Regions from separate parts of the Homo sapiens genome. Here region 1 is linked to region 2. The links are contacts of gene promoters, found by promoter capture Hi-C in blood cells and fetal thymus (Javierre and others, 2016). All regions are on one chromosome and are shown on one strand. The core of a region is centred on a gene start or on the middle of the fragment in contact, and the rest is flanking DNA. Distances in the headings are between cores, read along the strand shown.

Region 1 (6,736 bases), core at 1,668-4,167, 290 kb after region 2:
AGTGATGTTTTTAATGTGTTGGTGGATTTGATTGCTAGTATTTCATTGAGGATTTTTGCATCTGTGTTCATAGAGATATTGGCTGTGGTTTTATTTTCTTGTTTTGTCCTTGTCTGGTTTTGGTATCAAGGTAATTCTGGACTCACAGAATAAGTTTAGAAGTATTCCCTCTTCAATTTTTTGGAATAGTTTGAGTAGAAGTGGTATTCTTTAAATGTTTTGTGGAATTTCAGCAGTGAAGCCAATCAGTTCCTAGGCTTTTGTTTGATGGGAGACTTTTTGTTACTGATTTGATCTTGCTATTCGTTATTGTTCTGTTCAGGTTTTGTATTGTTTCATGGTTCAACACTGGTAGATTGTACACGTCCAGGAATTTGTCCATTTCTTCTAAGTGTTCCAATTTGTTGGTATACAGTTGTTCATAATACTCTCTAATGAGCCTTTGAATTTCTCTGGTATCGGTTGTAGGCCTCCTTTTTCATCTCTGCTTTTATTTAGGTGGGTCTTCTCTCTTTTTTATTAGTTAGTGCTCCTGAACAACCAATGTGTCAATAAAAAAATTAAGAAGAAAATTTTAAATTGTTTTGAAACAAATGAAAATAGAAACACAACATCCCTAAACCTATGGGATACAGCAAAATAGTGTATAAAAAGGGAGGTTTATAGCAATAAGCACCCATATCCAAAAAAGTAGAAAGGGCTAGGTGCACTGTCTCACACCTATAATCCCAGTACTTTGGGAGGCCAAGGCAGGATGATTACTTGAGTCCAGGAGTTTGAGACCAGCCTGGGCAACATAGTGAGACCTTGTCTCTACAAAAAATAAAAAATAAATCAGCTGAGTATGGTGGCCCATGCCTGTGGTCCTAGTTACTTGGGAGGCTGAGGTGGGAGGGTTCCTTGAGCCCGGGAAGTTGGGGTTGCAGTGATCTGTGATTGTGCTACTGTACTCCAGCCTAGGTGACAAAGCAAGATCCAGTCTCAAAAAAAAAAAAAAAAAGTAGAAAGACTTTAAATAAACAACCTAATGATGTACCTTAAAGAACTAGAAAAGCAAGAACAAACCAAACCCAATATTACTAGAAGGAAAGAAATAATAGTGATAAAAACAGAAATAAATGAAGTTGAAATGAAAAAAATACAAAAGATCAATGAAACAAAAAGTTGGTTTTTTGAAAATATAAACAAAATTAACAAACCTTTATCTAGACTAACCTATAAAAAAAGAGAAGATCTACATAAATAAAATCAGAGATGAAAAGGGAGTCCTTACAACTGATAGCACAGAAATTCAAAGGATCATTACAGAGTATTATGAACAGCTGTATACCAACAAATTGGAAAACCTAGAAGAAATGGACAAATTCCTGGACATGTTGTTTAATTTCCATGTATTTGTACAATTTCAAAAGTTCCTCGTTATTTATTTCTAGTGTCATTCCATTATGGTCAGAAAAGATGTTTGGTATAATTTAAATTTTTAAAAATTGGTTAAGACTTGTTTTGTGGTCTAAAATGTGGCCTATCCTGGAGAATGTTCCACGTGCAGATGAGTAGAATGTATATTCGTCAGCAGTTGGATGAAATGTTTTGGGCTTGGGCTATGAGTCTCCACCTGCCTTGGGTAGCTCTCCTGAGCCTTGGAGGACCAGCTCATCATGAATCCTAGGCTTTAACTGTTCCTTGCTGCTATCTGTAAGTAATAAATCTTCATGTAACTTGTGTGTGTGAGCATTCTGCCTCAATAGACTTGAGCAAGCAACAAAGCGCAGACTAAGATGCAGAGGGCTGAGGTGGTAACCAGTGCACAGTGAACCTGCTTTACAGCAGGTCCTGTCTCTTCCTCAAGGAGATTATTACTCTTTAGAACTCAATTCATTTGGTCACCTTGTTGTCATAGTAAGTAAGTAGGTAGCTACTCAGACACGAGCAGGGCAGGAGAGGCCCCCCAAACCCAGGAATGTCAGGCAACCATCAGGTGATGGTCAGACAGCTGTTAAAACTGTTGCTTTAAAATAATAATTGGTTGCAGCCGGCGCCAGGGAAAGGCAGTCTCCCAATAGATAAAAACACCTGAAATGGGTGATCAGCTTACCGATAAGATCTCAGGAGTTGGGCGAGTGGGCTCAAGCATACGCACTAAAAGGCAAAATGGTGGAGTTTAAGTGGTACGTAGCCTTCTAGGAACACTTGAATGGTAAGGGAAGAATGCCTCAAGTGAGCATGTGTACAACGCCAGTAAACACACTGCGCATGCGGCCCGTCCCAAATGCGGGCAGGCCCCTGTGCATGCAGACAGCCCACCCCAAGGGAAGAATCAGGGAAGAAGTCAGGCAACCTCAGAAGCATGCCAACGTATAAGACCCCAAGTCAAAGGTCAGACCACACACTTGACTCTCTCAAGTCGCCAGCTTGGCCCCCTTCCAAGTGTACTTTACTTCCTTTCATTCCTGCTCTAAAGCTTTTTAATAAACGTTTACTTCTGCTCTAAAACTTGCCTTGGTCTCCCGCTCTGTCTTATGGCCCTCAGTTGAATTCTTTCCTCTGAGGAGGCAAGAATTGAGGTTGCTGCAGACCCATACAGATTTGCCACTGCTCACATTGTGATCTTAGTTCTGTGATGAGCTCAAGAAAAGTTATGATTTTATAAATAAATTATCTTTTTCTCTTTTTTAGGATGAGTGCACCATTCTCTTGCAGCCCTTTTTGTTTTTTTTTGAGACAGTGTCTCGCTCTGTTGCCCAGGCTGCAGTGCAGTGGTGCAGTCTCGGCTCACTGCAACCTCTGCCTTCTGTGTTCGAGCGATTCTCCTGCCTCAGCCTCCCGACTAGCTGGGACTACAGGCATGCACCACCATGCCTGGCTAATTTTTGTATATTTAGTAGAGATGGGGTTTTGCCATGTTGGCCAGGCTGGTCTCGAGCTCTCGATCTCGAGTGATCCACCCACCTCGGCCTTCCAAAGTGCTGGGATTACAGGCGTGAGCCACCGTGGCTGGCCTTCTCTTGCAGCTTTCTATATCCTAAGCAGAAATGGAATCCCATATTAAAATTTTTCTAAGATCAGGTAACTTCGTTTTGTTTCTACATACTAACAACGAACACGTGAAATCCCCAAATTACAATGGTACCATTTAAAGTATCTTCAAAGAAAACAAAATACTAAGGTACAAACTTACAAAACACATACAGGATCTGTATGCTGAAAATTACAAAATGCTGATGAACAAATTCAAAGAAGACCTAAATAAAGAGAGACATTGTGTTCATGGATTGGATCACTTAACGTAGTAAAGATGTCAGTTCTCCCTAAATTGATTTATATATTGAGTGCAATTCGTGTAAAAGTCCCAGAGAGGCTTTTGTAGACATAGACAAGCTTGTTCTAAAATTTATATAGAAAGGCAAAACTTTGTGAATATACTCAAAATTACTGAATTGTATACTTTAAAGGGTGAACTTTGGGGTATGTGAATTATATCTCAATAAAGTTGTTATAAAAACATTTAAGCTGGGCATAGAGGCTCATGCCTGTATTCCCAGCACTTCGGGAGGCTGAGGTGAGTGGATCACTTGAGGTCAGGAGTTCAAGACCAGCCTGGCCAACATGGTTAAGCCCTGTCTGTATTAAAAATACAAAAATTAGCCAGGTGTGATGGTGCACACCTGTAATCCTAGCTACTTGGGAGGCTGAGGCAGGAGAATCACTGGAACCCTGAAGGCAGAGGTTGAAGTGAGCCGAGAGTGCACCACTACACTCCAGCCTGGGCGACAGAGTGAGACTCATCTCAAAACAAACAAACAAACAATGACAACAATAACAACAACAAACATTTAAGAGGGCCCCCACCATCAGGTGCTGCTTCTGCCCTTGCAGAGCCTGAGGGTGAGACCCTCATGTTTTGTGCCCTTGTACCTCCCTGCTACACCCTAGTCCTGGACCTGGTGGAAGATGCAGGTATTTATCCTCTAAATTCTGATTCTGGGGTTTAACTCTCCTGGCTTGCCCTCTGTATCCATCCAAGCTCAGGACTGTGGGCGGGTGACTCCCTTGGGCTAAGACACAAGAAGCCATCAGGCTGCGTGTCCATCGATGTCTGTGGCATTGTCAGCGTCTGCCACTCTTAGTGTCATCTGGCTACCGCCATCTTCCCTGTCCTTCTCCTCCTGGCCTCGGTTCTCTTTCAAGGAATATACCACTTTCCCACCCTGGGGCCCTCACACAGGCTGTTTCTCCTCCCTGAAGCACTGTCCCCACCCCCTTCCTATCTCATCCTTCAGGACTCAGCCCAAATGTCACCTCCTCAGAGAGGGCTTCTCTTCCTGCCCTGTCCCAAAATGTTCTCCATTATTCTCTCTCATAACACTCAGAATATTTTCTTAATAGCACTTATCTCCATTTGGAAAGTGTGTACTCATTTGTTTTTCTAAGTATTTAGTGTCTGTCTTCCCTACCAGGCAGTGAGATTTAGGAGAGAGGGACTGGGTCTGTTTTGCTCGTGGCTGTATCCACCATATACTTCTCTGTGCCTGGCACATAGGTGGTGCTCAATAAATGCTTGTCAGGTGCTTTATGAATACAACACACTCCTGGCCCTGCTCCCCTAAACAAGCACTCCTAAGTGGGGGAGGGAGGCATTGAGGCAGGCACCTGTGGCACCAGGTGGTCTGTGCTATGATGGGCAGGTGAGCAGAGGAGTGCAGGAAGCTAAATGAGGCAGAAATTAATTCTGGGAGCTCAGAGAGGGAAGAAAATCTAGAGAGCAAGTGCAATGTGAATTGGGTTTTGAAGGATGAATAGGAGAGTGCTGGGTACGTAAGGACATTGGAAGAAAATCTCAGGCAGAGGTAAGAGCATAGAGAAGAGTTTGGAATAGATAAGAGCCACTGCCTCTGGCTGTGTGAGTGCATGTGTGTGCATATGTGCGTGAGTATGAATGTGTGTGTGTGTGTGTGTGTGTGTGTGTGTGTAGGGTGGTAGGGTGGTAGGGTGTGAATCTGGAGATGCAGGTAGAACCCTGGACACAAAAGGTTTTTAAGGCCAGGCATGGTGGCTCATGCCTGTAATCCCAGCACTTTGGGAGGCCAAGGCAGGGAGATCACTTGAGCCCAGGAGATGGAGACCAGCCTGGGCAACGTGGCAAGACCCCGTCTGTACCCAAAAAATGAAAAATTAGCTGAGCATGGTGGCGCGCCTGTAGTCTCAGCTACTTGGGAGGCTGAGGCAGGAGGATCACTTAAGCCTGGGAGGTTGAGTTTGCAGTGAGCTACAATTGTGCCACTGCACTCCAGCCTGGGCAACAGAGTGATACCCTGTCTCAAAAATAAATAAATAAAATTAAATAAAAGGTTTTTAACACCCAGCTAAAGATTGATTCTAACTTCCAGCAGTTTTCTTAGTGTGAAGTCAGTTTCACTGGAGAGGGTAGGTGGTACCTGTCTGGGTGATTTGATGTAGGACTCATAATTCTTTCTTTTCTTTTTTTTTCCTTTTGAGACAGGGTCTCACTATGTTGCCCAGGCTGATCTCACACTCTTGGGCTCAATTGATCTTCCTGACTCGGCCTCCCAAAGTACTGGGATTACAGGTGTGAGCCACCATGCTCAGCTGAACTCATAATTTTATAAGGATTTTAAAATAGTAAATCATTTTAATAGTTTCCTTTTAAAGATAAATGTATATAAATCAAAAAGGCAAGTCGACTTGAAGAAATATATTAAGTAAATAATAAATACAGGTGAAACCCCAGGGCAGACATTTGGCAAATGCTGCTGTGGATGGTGGGAGCCACAGCAAGGACAGAATGAGTGAAGAGGGTGGTGGGGCTGGAGTTGAAGGCCCAACTGGATGGACTGGGGAACGTGCACTAGTCTGGAAGGCATGAGGCCAGGGCCTGTGGGACCTGGAGGAAGGGAGAATCTACAGGCCTGGGAGCCTGATTGGATGTGGGAATGAAGCGGGCCAGGAGTTGAGGGACGCCCTAGTTTGGGGCTTGAAGGTACCAGGCTGCTTCTAACAGGAGGTGTCACAGTTGGCCATGTTACAGAACCTCTTTTCTAAGACTTGGATTCTTATTCACTGCAATGAAACAAAATTTGCAAACCTCTGTGTGACAAAGCGTTCCTTCCTGTGTCCCCAGTCAAATGCTGTAGCAGACGTGGTTGGCACCCTGTCCACACCCTTCCCTTGACCCATCTTGGAATTGACATGCAGAGAGTACCATGCTCACCAGCAGCTTTCTGTGTCTTTCTGCCCAAGGGCATTCTCTGGCCAGGGCCAGCTCAGCCTACACACGTCCCAGACTCACCATGGTCCAGCAGAAGATGGGAGCTGGGTAAATGGCCCAGCCTCTCCTCTCAGTGGCACAGCTCTGAGGTGTGGTCTGCAGTCTCCCAGAGGGACCTCAGCCAAACTGAGCCCCAGCTGTCCACAGCAGGAACCCATTCATTAGCGCCCTGTACTGGCTTCCTTCCCTTCCCTGGATGGCTTCCTGACTCTCAAATTGTGCTTCCTGGAACTACCTCCCAAAGAAACCACCTGCACCCAAATTTTTGCCTCAGGGTCTGCTTTCATGGGAACCCCAAAGCAAAACAAGCAAGAAATGTTAGGGTCACCACTACTTCCCTAGCTTCCTCTGGAGTTGCAGGCGTCATTTTTCCAGTTGATGTGGGTCCTCACAGTCCACCATATGCAGCTGTCTTTGTGGACACAACTGGAGGCACACGATCGGGATGAG
Region 2 (5,876 bases), core at 592-3,091:
CTCTTTGTTGTTGGGCCTCTGGGGAAGAAAGAACAGGGACAAACAGGAACACCTGCTTGATTGGCCCCTCCCTATGCACACCCAGTAGTTTCAGGGAGTTGAAACAACCTCATAGGAGGGCAGACTTTGGTGGGGAGGGCAAGTCATAGTAAACACAATACCCCGCTCATTCAAGATAAGGCTCAGCAACTGCACAAGTTAACCAAGAGGCTCAACATTTGCCACAAATCCTGTGCCCCAGGCATAGGTCAAGACCCCACAGCAACCTCTGAGCTATGAGAACCGAATCCATGGGTTTGCAGATCCCACTGGATGAAAATGGGAAACAAGAATTATCCAGTGTAGGGTAAGATAAGAAGAATAGAGGTTATGTCACTAAGGATAAAATAGCTCCAGCCTGAGCAACATGGCGAGACCCCATCTCTACAAAAAAAAAAACACACAAAACAAAACAAAAAAAAACTTATCTAGGCATGGTGGCGCATGCCTGTAGTCCCAGCTACTCTGGAGGCTGATGTGGGAGGATTGCTTGAGCCCGGGAGGTTAAGGCTGCAGTGATCCATGATAGTGCCACTGCACAGTAGCCTAAATGTCAGAGCAAGACCCCATCTCAAAGAATAAAATAAAATAGCTGTCAACAGACACATTCCACATGACAACTTAAGGAGTCAAAATTCACTGAATGAAGTGTAGCCGAGCCCAACAGCATTGCTGGCAACCCTGATGACTGAAGGCACTCCAGAGTTTATAATCTATCATTATGATCATCGGTTAGCTTCCTGCAGTGCTTACTGATTCTGGGATTAGATGTACTTGAGATTGCCTGGATTCAGGATAAACGGGCACTTGATCTACATCCGTTGGCACCTTTTGCCAGCTTTCATGCCAGGAATGCCAGGAGAATTCTGCAGATTCACCTGCAGCTGACAGAGGTCAGGTCTCAAGCACCCAAATTCGCAAGGCCATTTTTGAAAACCCAGGGAAAGAACATCTTTAACCTTCCTTGAATATCCCCCTTTGAAATTTGAGCACCCCAAAGCATAGACTTCCTGATCTGGTTTATAAACTGTTTCAGTGACAGCATTCCAAGTTAAAAGAAATCTAAGTTTTTAATGAGGAAGCATCTTGAACTGTCATTCAAAAGAGTGACACTCCACCTCCTTCCAGAAGGGGTTTGAGGCAGTCTATGGTGAAAGACACAAATACTTCAGGACCATTAAAGCAAGGATCAGGAGACAGGCGTGGGGTAGCGGAGGACTCCAAAGGCAGATAATTGTGTCTAAAACCTGGAGTAAAGAGTGTGGCTGCAATTGAGCAAGAAAGCAAAATGTTATCAATTTCCCGGCAATTACATTGAATCAGTTCTGAGTGATCAATGAGCAGTATTGATTTGCACAGCCACTTGGCTCATCTCTGATCCATGGCAGAATCCCATCGCTGACAGGAAAATCGAGCCAACTCACGTTTGCCCCCGAAGCCTGCCCACGCATCCTCGAAGGAGCACTGAGACCTCACCACCTGCGACAGACACCTGGAGCCAGTCCGCCACGCGCCCAAGTTAAGACAAGCCCCAAACAGCACCATCAAAAGCCTATTCCAGAGCCCCTATTGAGGGGTGATTTTATCCAGAGAGGGGCTCAAATGTACTCACCAGTCCATGGGCAAAGAGGATGGCGGTGGGCCTCTTGGACTCAGTGTTTCTAAGTTGGTGAGAAGGTTAACTTTTCTTACCCCCACCCAGCCTAGCCCCCCCAGGGCCACCCCTCTCACCTGATGCGGCAGATATCCCTCTGCTCCGAGGCACTGCTCAAATCCAGGGGCCCTGGGCTGGGTGTTTGCTCTGGCAGCCGCCTGGCGTTCCCATCATTTATCTCTTCATTTTCCTAAGCGTTGTCAGCGTCAGAGAATCAATTACCCACAAGTCAACCAAAGGACTGTTTTTAGCATCATATCACACTGACAAACCCTGTTGGTGAAAGAGGTTTGGCCCCTTGCAGACTTAGACTCCTGGTAAAGTCTCCTTTTATCTTTGGCACAGTGGACATAGTACAAAGGTGTAACATTATTCCAAGAGGATATAGAGAATATATACTGCTATAATAGTGATTGGAGAACTCGGCTGGGCGCGGTGGCTCACACCTGCCATCCTAGCACTTTGGGAGGCTGAGGCGGGTGGATTGCCTGAGCTCAGAAGTTTGAGACCAACCTGGGCAACATAATGAGACCCTGTCTCTAGAAAAAAATTAAAAATTAGCTGGGCATGTTGGCACATGGGTATAGTCCCAGCTACTCAGGTGGCTGAGGCAAGAGTGTCACCTGAGCCTGGGAGGCGGAGGTTGCAGTGAGCCAAGACCACGCTATGGCACTCCAGCCTGGGTGACAGAGCACGACTCTATCTCAAAATATATATTTTTTAAAAAAAGAAAAAATATGTGTTAAAAATAATTGGAGAACTCATAACAGTGAAACACCAAGAGTTTATTGATTCTCCAAGATAAATGTGCCTTTTCAAAAGTTCATATAATTTAGCTTTGTCCCTGTGTAATTTTATTTCACTTTTGGGTAGACAACATTATGAATAAGCGTTATTCTCTCCTTAGTGGGGAATTTGTTCCCTATCTCCCTTGTCGTCCAATTATCAGAATTCTGCACTATTTGATTTACACCTGCTTGGTCACAGGCTGATTTCAACAGCTAGCCTGGGGGCATCCGTCGTCACCTGTCAAGGCAGCCAGACATTGGCAGTTGCCTCAGAGAAGTGTGAAATGAGAGGGAAGAGATGGAAAACCTTGGGAGAGTTGTTGTGTTTCCAGATTTCTCTAGCCTATAGCTAAGAAATCCTCAGGAATGACATAAAAGCACAGGAGGCAGAAGCTCTGGTTTCCCAGGCGGCCGTCGTGGAGGTGTGGAAAGAGCTCCAAGCCTCGAGTCTAGGGACCTGCTGCCTCTCCCAAGCCTGTCAATCATGACCTCTGTGACCCTTAGGAAGTTACTTCTACCTGGCTGGGTGCAGTGGCTCACACCTGTAATCCCAGCACTTTGGGAGGCTGAGGCGGGTGGATCATGAGGTCAGGGGTTCGAGACCAGCCTGACCAACATGGTGAAACCCCGTCTCTACTAAAAATACAAAAATTAGCTGGGTGTGGTAGTGGGCACCTGTAATCCCAGCTACTCAGGAGGCTGAGGCAGGAGAATTGCTTGAACCCGGGAGGTGGAGGTTGCAGTGAGCCGAGATCGTGCCACTGCACTCCAGCCTGGGCGACAGAGCGAGACTCTGTCTCAAAAAAAGAAAAAAAACTTCTACCCTCCGGGCCTCAGTTTCTACCTGGAAACTTGAGAGTTGACATAGAACAGCAACTTTCAAACTATTTTTTTGAGAGGGATCCTATCTTTGCCACCCAGGTTGGAGTGCAGTGGCATAATCTCGACTCATTGCAACCTCCACCTCCCGGGTTCAAATGATTCTCCTGCCTTAGCCTCCAGAGTAGCTGGGATTACAGGTGCGTACCACCACGCCTGGCTAAGTTTTGTATTTTAGTAGAGATGGGATTTCACCATGTTGGCCAGGTTGGTCTCAAACTTCTGACCTCAGGTGATCCACGTGCTTCTGCCTCCCAAAGCACTGGGATGACAGGTGTGAGCCACCACACCCAGCCCAAACATTTTTTAAAAAGTAGCAAAACTCTTTCTTTGGAAACCTACAGAGACAGGTTTTTAATATGGGGCTACTCTGGTTGAAGAGGGGGAAGTGGAGACCCCCTTGCCTATCCCTGAGGTACCTCGATGGGTCACAATTACAAGCCAGTAATTTCCAAGAGTCCCCTTAGCAACACTATTTTGTGGTTCTCCTTCTTAGCCTGCACTGAGCCATGTTCTTGGCATCTAGCAAATATGAGATGTTTCTCATAGAAGCAAGGCTTGAGTGGTATGTCACCTTGCTGGCCAGGATACGAAGTGGTCAGGTCAGGCCAGATCCCCAAGGATTAAGAATGGGCTGATAGTGGCCAGGTGCGGTGGCTCATGCCTGTAACCCCAGCACTTTGGGAGGCCGAGGCAGGCGGACTGCCTGAGCTCAGGAGTTCGTGACCACTCTGGGCAACATGGTGAAACCCCGTCTCTACTAAAATACAAAAAAATTAGCTGGGTGTAGTGGCATGTGCCTGTAATCCCAGCTACTGGGGAGGCTGAGGCACAAGAATAGCTTAAGCCCCAGAGGCAGAGGTTGGTGTGAGCCGAGATGGCGCCGCTGCACTTCAGCTTGAACAACAGAGTGAGACTCTGTCTCAAAAAAAAAAATAAATAAAAACAGGGCGTGGTGGTTCACGTCTGTAATCCCAGCACCTTGGGAGGCTGAGGCGGGCGGCTCACGAGGTCAGGAGATCGAGATCATTCTGGCTAACATGGTGAAATCCCGTCTCTATTAAAAATACAAAAAATTAGCCGGGCGTGGTGGTGGGTGCCTGTGGTCCCAGCTACTCGGGAGGCTGAGGCAGAAGAATGGCTCAGGACCCAGGAGGCGGAGCTTGCAGTGAACCAAGATGGTGCCACTGCACTCCAGCCTGGGTGACAGAGTGAGACTCCGTCTCAAAAAAATAAATAAAATAAATAAATAAATAAAAATAAAAATAAAAATAAATGGGTTGATAGCTTTAAATTAATTATTATTATTATTATTTTATTTACTTAATTTTTTGGAGACAGGGTCTCGCTCAGGCTAGAGTGTAGTGGTGAGATCTCAGCTCACTGCAGCCTTGACCTCCTAGGCTCAAGCAGTCCCCAACCTCAGCCTCCTGAGTAGCTGGGACTGCAGTTGCACGCCACCATGCCCAGCTAATTTTGTTTATTTTTAGTAGAGATGAGATCTCACTATGTTGTCCTGGCCAGAACTCAAATATTATTTAAAAAAAAAAAGTGCAGGTCACAGCAGCAGGGAGCAGACGAAGCAGTTGGGAGCCCCAGGGCTATGGGCTCTCGCACAGTCAGGAAGTGTGGGGTAACTCCTGGAAATGCAAAGTGGGGACCATGCAGAGCTGGGCACCCAGAGTGGACGCTGGTCCAGGGCACAGATGCAGGTTACATGGAGTTGGCCGGAGAAGCCATGGGGCTCAGAATCCAGCCTCGGTTGAAACTCTGTGCCAGGCATTGTGCTACAGACTTCACGCCCTATCTCAGTTTTCTTATTTGTAAAATGGGAGTGATAGAGCTCAACTTATGAGGCTCTTGGGTGAGAATTATTGTGACATTGCATAAAGGGCAGACCTGGCATAGGGCAGAGCTCACAATTTAGCTTTGATAATTGCTGTTCTTGTCATTGCGGTAAATGAGGAAACAGGCATGAAAGGTTACGTGCTCAGCCACAGCCACAGAGCTAGTCAGTAGCTGGAAGAGCTATGACTCAAACATGTTTTCTGACTTCCTTACAGCCCCAGCTACTCAGGAGGCTGAGGCAGGAGGATCACTTGAGCCCAGGAGTTAGAGGCTGCAGTGAGCTATGTTCGTGCTTCCGTACTCCAGCCTGGGCAATGGAGTGACACCTTGTCTCTATTGAAAAAAAAAGGAAAAAAAAGTTTTCTGATTTCCAATTTGTTTGCCCCACACTAAGGCCCTTCCTGGGCCTACCAGTTCTAATTTTTTTTTTTTTTTTTTTAAAAAGAACTTCAACAGTTTGGCCGGGCGTGGTGGCTTACACCTGTAATCTCAGCACTTTGGGAGGCCGAGGCAGGCGGATTGCCTGAGGTCAGGAGTTCGAGACCAATCTGGCCAACATGGTGAGACCCTGTCTCTACTAAAAATACAAAAAAATTAGGCGGGCGTGGTGGCATGCGCCTGTAATCCCAGCTACTCGGGAGGCTGAGGCAGGGGAATTGCTTGAACCA

What was found. The method cuts DNA at HindIII sites, captures the fragments that hold promoters and counts their contacts. A CHiCAGO score of 5 or more calls a contact.
Region 1: a fragment that was not itself captured here is called in contact with the fragment with the promoter of GHRH in region 2 in 7 of 17 cell types (endothelial precursors, M2 macrophages, M1 macrophages and 4 more); the score reaches 7.2 in endothelial precursors.

What each region holds. Positions count from the first base shown.
Region 1 is chr20:37,552,663-37,559,398 of GRCh38, forward strand. No RefSeq gene overlaps it. Among named protein-coding and RNA genes, the nearest start is that of LINC01746, 15 kb to the right of the region's middle. The HindIII fragment of the contact is 917 bases long and covers 2,460-3,376 here.
Region 2 is chr20:37,259,973-37,265,848 of GRCh38, forward strand. It overlaps GHRH (growth hormone releasing hormone), which reads right to left and starts at 1,842. Exons shown (of 5, transcript NM_021081.6): 1 at 1,771-1,842. RefSeq lists silencers at 5,174-5,293, 5,434-5,483. The HindIII fragment of the contact is 7,318 bases long and covers 1-5,876 here.